Regions from separate parts of the Homo sapiens genome. Here region 2 is linked to region 1. Evidence: promoter capture Hi-C in human tissues and cell types (Jung and others, 2019). All regions are on one chromosome and are shown on one strand. Each heading gives the region's core, a stretch centred on a gene start or on the middle of the fragment in contact. The rest is flanking DNA. Distances are from core to core; before and after follow the strand shown. Region 1 holds the start of SLC17A9 (solute carrier family 17 member 9). Region 2 holds the start of DNAJC5 (DnaJ heat shock protein family (Hsp40) member C5).

Region 1 (3,906 bases), core at 1,039-3,538:
TCCTCACTGGGCCCTCCCAGTTTTAGAAATGTTGAACACTAGTGCTTGTAAGATTCGAACAATGAGTTTACCAGCTCTGAGAAAAATGAACTGCTCCAGAACCTTCAAGAATGTTTCTCTGTATCACGCCCACATCACACCGAATCCATTTGTCGTCATTGCAGAGTTCATCTTTCTGGTTTTGAGCACCATCTCACACAGTTCTTTGTCTTTTTCCAGTCTGCTGTTGACTGGGTTAGCTCAGCCCGAAAGGTGCCCCCACCTTTGAGGCAGTTCCCGCACGTGATGTCCAGTACCGCGGTCTTCCCTCTTGCTGCTGCCTGTCAGTCATGGCAGAGGAAAGTGTCATCTGTCAGTCTCCTTTTCATGGACTCCTCATCTTGAGAATTGTAGTTGGGCTGGAAGGTTGCAGGGCTAAGTGGGGTGCAGGGAGGAGCCCCAGGCCCAGGGCTGGCTTGTCTTGGTTTACAAGAAGCTGTGCGGGGTCTCCTGGGGCGTCTGTGGGGGGTGTGGATGCAGAGGCTGAGCAACGGGCGCCATACGTAGTGAGGTGTGGATTTGCTTTAGGAAAATCTCTAGCATCGTCTCCCTATAGCAGCACTTGAAATAAACAAGAAGTTAGGTGGGCCAGGCCCAACAAGAGGGAGGCACGCAGCCTTCCAGAAGCAGAGGCCAGTGGGTGCTGGCTGTGACTGCCCTGTCCGCAAGGTCACCCTGTGTCCTTGAAAACCCAGGTGTTGACTGTCTATTGTCCCTACATAATTTTTCACCTTAGGCCTCAAAGATGCTTGGGTGCGGGGCAGCTCTCAGAATCCACCAGAAGCGTGGAGAGCCTCCATCTGGCCACTACCAGCACCCAGCTTTATAATGTCCCTGTGAGATGGCCCCTTCACCCACCCAGCCATCCCTGCATGGCCCGTTTCTTCAGCTCATCCAGCCTTCACTCAGGTGTCCAGGGGTGCCTCCTCAGCCCAACCTATTTGAAGTAACACCCCTTCCCTACCCCTTTCACTACTTTGATTTTTGTCTACCTGCCCCAGAACATCAGCTCCAGGAGGAAGGGGACTTTGGGTAACCAGATGGCAAATGTCTGCTGCAGCATGATCACAGATCTCGGTAGGAAATCACCATCACAGAGTGAATGGAAGCGAATCACCTCAAAGAGGGTGCTGTTGACAGCGATACGTTTAGCAACAGTTTCCAAACTTCCTGGCTATGGGCTAGGGCTGTTTGGGGCAATAAACCTCTCTCTGCCACCATCTTTTCACCTACCCTACGTCAGGATGGATGAAAGTATGACCTTGCTTTTCAGGGTGCCCGTGTCTTTCTGTTCAGAGGGCCCTGGGAGCAGGCCCTGCAGTGCAGTGGGTTGGGCTGTTGGAGACCTGAGGGCTAGGGGGAGGGAGGGGGTAAATGTGGGTCTGTTCTAAGTGCAAGGCCCTGCCTTAGACGTGTCTCCCTCGGCCCCTGGGTGGTGGCTGCTGCGTGGAGGATGGACTGAGGTGGGCCCTAGTGGAGGTGGGGGCAACGCCTGAGGAGCAGGCCCTGCCGCCTCCTGGGGAAAGGCTGCATGGTTGAGGCCTTCCCCTGCTGGCTTCATCCTTGGCATGGCAGCAGGAGCACACAGAGTGGGGGCCCCACCCCGTCACCCCTGCCCCCGAGCCCAGAACCTGGCCTGTGATGGGTCCTCAGGACACCTTTTGTCCAGGAACCCAGGGGCCAATGACAACCTTCACAGGCATCTGCTGAGAAGACATGGGCCAGCGCTGGATTTGTCCAGCTCTCCCAGGCTTGGTCCAAGGGCTCAGGAGTGGACCCATCCCTGCCCCGAAAGATCCATTTTAAAAATCAGTGACCCTGTACTTTTACTCTCTTTGCACTTGGTTAAGACTTTATCCCTGATTTTATTTGATCGGTAAGGCAGGGACTGCCATCATTCCCCATTTTATAGACAGAGGACAGACGGCCCCATGGCTCCGTGTCGTGTCCAAGGGATGGGCTGGCACCTCTTGGACCAGGCTTACCACCAGGGCCCTTCTCTGAAGCCCCAGTCTGACCGGCCTGCTGCTGGGAATCCCCCTCTGCCCCCACACTAACCTCTGCTGGGGCTGAGCCAGGGCGCGTCGGACAGTCAGGGCGACCCAGCCAGGGCGACCGTTGGCCCCGCTCCTATGGGGCAGCAGGGACCGACGTCAGCAGGGTGGGGCGGGCACCCGAGTGGTATGCCCCGCCCTGCCCCGCCTGCCCGCCCTGGTGGCCGTCTGGGGGCGACAAGTCCTGAGAGAACCAGACGGAAGCGCGCTGGGACTGACACGTGGACTTGGGCGGTGCTGCCCGGGTGGGTCAGCCTGGGCTGGGAGGCAGCCCCGGGACACAGCTGTGCCCACGCCGTCTGAGCACCCCAAGCCCGATGCAGCCACCCCCAGACGAGGCCCGCAGGGACATGGCCGGGGACACCCAGTGGTCCAGGTGTGGCGGGGGTGAGGGGAGGGGGGGTGGGAGCGGTGGAGATGGGGCCGTGGGGAGGGAGCTGAGATACTGCCACGTGGGACGATGCTAGGTGGGGAGGGCTGAGCTGGGCGGGCTCCTCTGGCTGTGGGGCCCCCTGTGTTCCTTGTGGGAGGTGGAAGGAAGTGAGTGCCCTGTCCTTCCTCCCTGCCATGAGATTCCAGGACCGGACCTGGCAAGTGCCCTATCCCAGCCAGTGTTCCTGGGGCTCTTCCAGGCAGGGCTATGTTCCCCAGGCCAGGGGCATTGTCCTGGACAGTCAGGAGGCATACCCCTCGCCAGGTGGAACCACCCTGTGTATGCATGACCCTGACAAGCAGGCGCCAGGACAGTCAGGAGGCCAGGTAGGGGGCACGGGCTGGAGCCTGCAGCTGGACGGGGTTGGGGGGGGTCCTGCCACCACGTGCCAGCTGTGTGCTGAGGACGAGCTCCCCGCTGGCTTCAGCTCTCGGAGCATTTGGTGGTGGGGAGAAGCAGGGCCTGGGCAGGTCGCCTGGCCACCAGCACTGCTGCCTGTAGGAGGCTCCCTGGGCAGGTGACGCCTCAGAAACCGGGCGAGATGGTGACCGCGGGCCATTGGTCAGCTGGGGAGGGCCTCTGCCAGGGAGCTCCTGAGAGCAGCCCCCACACTGCTGAACCCCTTGGCTCTGGGTCTTGGGCTGAGGCCTTAAGTGGCTGGACCCTGGGCCTAGACTCAGGCCCTGTGGGTTCCAGAGCAGTCTCCTGCCTGCACTGAGTCCCCAGGGTACCTACCCTGACCATGGCAAGGTAATGGCACCTTCTGGCCCCACCAGTTCCCAGCTGTATGAGGGCTGAGGACCCTAGAAGTGCTGGGAAGAGTTGTAGGAAGGCCCAAAGGGGCAGTGCCACCATCGGATGTTGGCACCCAGATGAAGGGAGCGCTGGCTGCATGGGAAAAGCTGGCAGCCCAGATCACAGCCCTGTCAGGCGCCAATTAGAGGGGAGGGCTGCCCTCAGCGGGCCCTGCCCCTTGCTCTCTTCCTCTTCCCCCACCCACGTTCATCCAGGCCTGCCGGGCAGGGCCAGCTCCCCAGGGATTCAGGGCCTCCTCACTGGCGGCTGGTTTGAGTGGCTCCGCCTTCACTACGTCCCTCCCAGGCTCGATGTTTAAAAAGGAGCCCTTGCCGCAGCCTTCACTACGTCCCTCCCAGGCTCGATGTTTAAAAAGGAGCCCTTGCCGCAGCCTTCACTACGTCCCTCCCAGGCTCGATGTTTAAAAAGGAGCCCTTGCCACAGCTCTTCAACTTCCTTTGCAGGCCCTTATTGGGTAGCGCCAAGGATTCTGGAGGGGCCTGTGGGTCAAGGCTGCCACACGCACGCCTTTTCCTAGCCCGCCCTCCTGCAGCCACATCACAAAGGCTGGGCCAGGCGAGAACA
Region 2 (3,906 bases), core at 448-2,947, 940 kb after region 1:
CTTTCTTTTTTTCTTCTTTTTAAATAAGAGATGGGGTCTTGCTCTGTCACCCAGGCAGGAATGCAGTGGCACAATCATGGCTCACTACAGCCTTGACTTCCCACCCGATCCAGCCTCCTGAGTAGCTGGGACTACAGGGGCATGCATGCCACTGTGGCCGGGCCAATTAAAAAAATTTTTTTTTATAGAGATGGTGGTCTCACTATGTTGTCCAGGCAGGTCTCAAACTCCTGGGCTCCAGTGATCTTCCTGCCTTGGTCTACCAAAGTGCTGAGATTCCAGGCGTGAGCCATGGGTCCCGTTGTATACATTTCAGTAACTATATTATTCCATTTGAGTGCTCACTTGTGCAGTTGGGCAGGTTTCCATTCTCGCTATTAAAAATAGTGCCTTCATGAATATTTCAGTGCATATACCTTTTTCTGTATTTAGGAATATTTTCTTTGGAAGAATGTCCCTAAAGTGGAACTGCTAGGTCTCAGAGGGACTCACTTAAGGCTGGTTCATTCATTCTTGCAGCTCCCAGCACAAGTGGAATATAGCTTCAATCTGAGATCGGTACCAGGCCCATTTCATTCTCTCATCCCTCCAATTCTGGCCTGAAATATTTCATTCTCTTGGAATCTATAGTTGTAGATATGAACCTGGCCTTTCTGCTTCTTGGGTTCCATAGGCCTTTTCTTGCTGCCTGCTTGATGTTGCGCAGCTTAATGACTGCTAGGAGGCTTCCCAAGCTCTGACACTTCCAGGCTGTGAGACTGGAACAAGCTTGGCAATTCAAGACCGGCATTATGGCAGTGAGTTATGAGGGCAGAGGAAGGAGGCCAGAGCGTGTTGAGAGAGAATTTGGGTTTCACGCAGTGTGTCACGGGAAGCCTTGGATGCTACTGGGTTTGTTTTAAAAAGATGACCGCACTGAACTCAGGTAAACGGGCAAGGGTGGAAGCGAGGAGGCAGGAGCACCGGCCGCAGAGGTCTGGGAGCTTCTAGGATGGGAAGTGGCCCAGGCAGCCTACGCGGGGCAGGCCGTCAGTGAGTGGCGGAGCGCCTGCAGTTACAGGGACAGGGAAGGGTGGCCGACGGGATGGGCAAGGGCAGAGGGAGGTGGAGTGGACGTTCGTGGTCCTGCCTCTCCACGCTGCTGTTTGGAGATGATTCCGGGAGGGTGGGAGGGCGCTGGCGACGGCATTTCAGTGGTTGGACAGGAAGGAAGGAAGGACGTCCCATCTCGGCGCTCCAGGGTTGAGCAAATGTCAGTCCCAGGACGGTGGCTCCGGGTGGGGGCGGGGGCGACGGTCCGCAGCCGTCTCCCACCAGCTCCCTGTTCAGTTCTTTGATGAGAACGATTACGTTTTCTCAGTCTTACTTAAAGCGCTGAGTAAACTCACCTGCAAGACCAGCAAGCCCTGCGCTTCTCTTTCTGCGCGGTTCCCCGCAGCACATGGCGTGTCCACCCGGGACCCACCTGCGGCCACCTGAAGACTGGGAGGACTGGCTCCGCCCCCGCGCTTCGTCCCCGCCCACTCATGGGCGGAGCCTCCACAGGGCGCCTCGGCCCCGGGCTGTCACTCGGGACTCCGCCCCTTCATGGACGGAGCCTCCGCTCGGCTCTCTGAGCGCATGCGCAGCCGGTCCCACCCGCGGCTCCGACACGCCGGAGCCCACGTCCTTCCGGGAGCGCGCGCGCCGGTGCGGGTGCGTGCGTGAGCGTGCTCGTCTCCGCTGCCGCTGCCGCTGCCGCTGCCGGTGCCGCACCCGCGCCCTCTGCCGCCGCCGCCGCCGCCGCCCGGGGTCTCCAGGCTGAGGAGTGCGTCGGCCGCTGCCCAGCAGCGCCGCGAATCGGGGAGCGGAGCCGCGGAGCCGGCGGGAGGGCGGGCGGGCGGGCGGACGGGCAGGTGAGCTCGCTGCGGGTCGGGCGGGCGGATCGGCCCACGTCAGGCCCGGGCAGGCGGGCGGGCGGGCGCGGGTGGGGGGCGGGGGCGGCACTCCAGAGCCGGAAATGGCGGCGACCCCCGGGCCGGGGCTGCGCGGGCGCTCGGGGCCGGAGCTGCTGCGACGCCGCGGCCTGGGCCGGGGCGGGGGCGCGGGAAGGTCGGCGCCGGGGCCTGCGGGAGCCGGGCCGGGCCGGGCCGGGGGTCTGAGCACCGTGGTGGGGGCTGGGGCGGCGCTCTCCGCGGGTCTCTTCGGGCCCGGACGCCCCCTCCGCTCCCCCAGGTCCCCGCGGCCGCCCCCAACCCCCCGGGGTCTCCTCTCCTGCGGGGGGACTGGAGAAGCTGGGCCATCGCTGGTCTTAGGGAGGCAGATAATTTAGTCCCTGGGTCGTTGTGTTTATAGCTCGGGGAATTGAAAATTGTTCTGTAACGCATCGTAAATTAATCTTTCCGACGTTGTAAATTCCAAAAAGCATTTGGTTTGTTAGAAAAAACCTGTTTTCTCCGCTTTATAAAAACATTTGAAGCCATGCTTTATATTGAACTCTTAAGGAGAGTATTAGGAACTCGTCCGTTCAGGTTCTAACTTGTTGGTGTTAAGTGTCTGGATTAAAGACTCTCTTTTTCGTGTGCCGAAGCCATGATTTCTCAAATTCATTCAGTTGTGTCATACAGGAAAAGGAAGCAAAAATTTCAGCTTTATTTTTGTTTTCCGGCTTAGGCTTGGTTGGGAAGATTTGATGGTGGTTAGACACGTCTGCCCTTATTTGCCTGTTTAGAAAAACCTATTCTAATGACAAAAACAGTTACATTGCTCCCACTATTGTCATGGTTACCTGAAGGCAAAAGTTTACTCAAAGCTTCTGAGATTTTATGTTCGTTTATTTGCTTCTCTTTTTAAAAAAATGTCAGCTGAGTTTCAGGAATGAGTAGTCTGTCAAACAAGAGATGAAATTAGAAGCCTGGATCTAAGGGCTTTGGGGAAGTTTCGGTTGAGTTCCCCTTTCACTTGTGTCGGTGCTGTAGGACTCGGGGTGGCTCCAGCTGGCGTCTGGCCCAGCAGAGAGCTGTAGGGGCCCGCTCTGGTTGCTGGCTGTGTGGACTCTGAGGGACACCCCTGGCGAGGGTGTTAATGAGCCTGCAGCGTCTGAGTCCACCCACCCTCAGACTGGCCCCTGACTCACTCTGCACCTGCCATATCAGCCTCCTTGCTAGTTCTGAACAGAGCCACATGCTCTGTCCTTGGATCTTCCTGGAATGCCTGGTTCCTTAACCCCCTAGCCTGGCGACTGCCTGCCTGCCTTGCCACCCAGTTCCCTTCCTCGCTTAATTTTCCCACAGCGCTGAATCCTCCTAGTGTCCTGCTTAATGCATTTATCATACTTAATATTTTACTGTGAGTTAGTAAGGTCCGTGGAGAGAATGTTTTGTGAAAAAAACAGTTGCTGGCACATGATCGGGGCCCAGTAAATATTTGTTCAGTGAATGAACGTGAGGAGCTTAGCAGCAGCTGTGCGTGGTGCTGGCCTTGTCACCCGGAAGTCCTTGTCGGTGAGGACTGAGCATGTAGAGGTAAGGGTTCCTGGAGTGTTGGCCCTCAGGACAGAGAGCCACCATCTCTCACCTGCCCAATGAGGAAAGACAGCCAGGTAAGGGGTGGCTTGGAAGGGTGCATGGGACCCTTGTAAATCTTTTCGCAACTTTGAATCTATAATTATTTTGAAGTTAAAACGTTTCTAAAAAGTCAGATCTGTTGGGGGCACAGTGGCTCATGCCTGTAATCTCAGCACTTTAGGAGGCTGAGGCGGACGGATCACTTGGAGTCAGGAGTTCGAGACTAGCCTGGCCAACATGGTGAAACCCCATCTCTACTAAAAATACAAAATTAGCTGGGTGTGGTGGCGTGTGCCTGTAATCCCAGCTACTAGGGAGGCTGAGGCAGGAGAATCACTTGAACCCAGGAGGCGGAGGTTGC

Evidence for each region. The method cuts DNA at HindIII sites, captures the fragments that hold promoters and counts their contacts. A contact is called where the count stands out against the background at its distance.
Region 2: the fragment with the promoter of DNAJC5 here is called in contact with the fragment with the promoter of SLC17A9 in region 1 in 2 of the 25 tissues and cell types used here (spleen and stomach).

What each region holds. Positions count from the first base shown.
Region 1 is chr20:62,950,421-62,954,326 of GRCh38, forward strand. It overlaps SLC17A9 (solute carrier family 17 member 9), which reads left to right and starts at 2,289. Exons shown (of 13, transcript NM_022082.4): 1 at 2,289-2,469. The coding sequence starts at 2,411. RefSeq lists an enhancer at 1,699-2,528 and silencers at 2,080-2,399, 2,410-2,509. The HindIII fragment of the contact is 20,012 bases long and covers 1-3,906 here.
Region 2 is chr20:63,893,429-63,897,334 of GRCh38, forward strand. It overlaps DNAJC5 (DnaJ heat shock protein family (Hsp40) member C5), which reads left to right and starts at 1,698. Exons shown (of 5, transcript NM_025219.3): 1 at 1,698-1,895. RefSeq lists enhancers at 911-1,080, 1,013-1,540, a cis regulatory region at 996 and a silencer at 1,540-1,779. The HindIII fragment of the contact is 9,208 bases long and covers 1-3,906 here.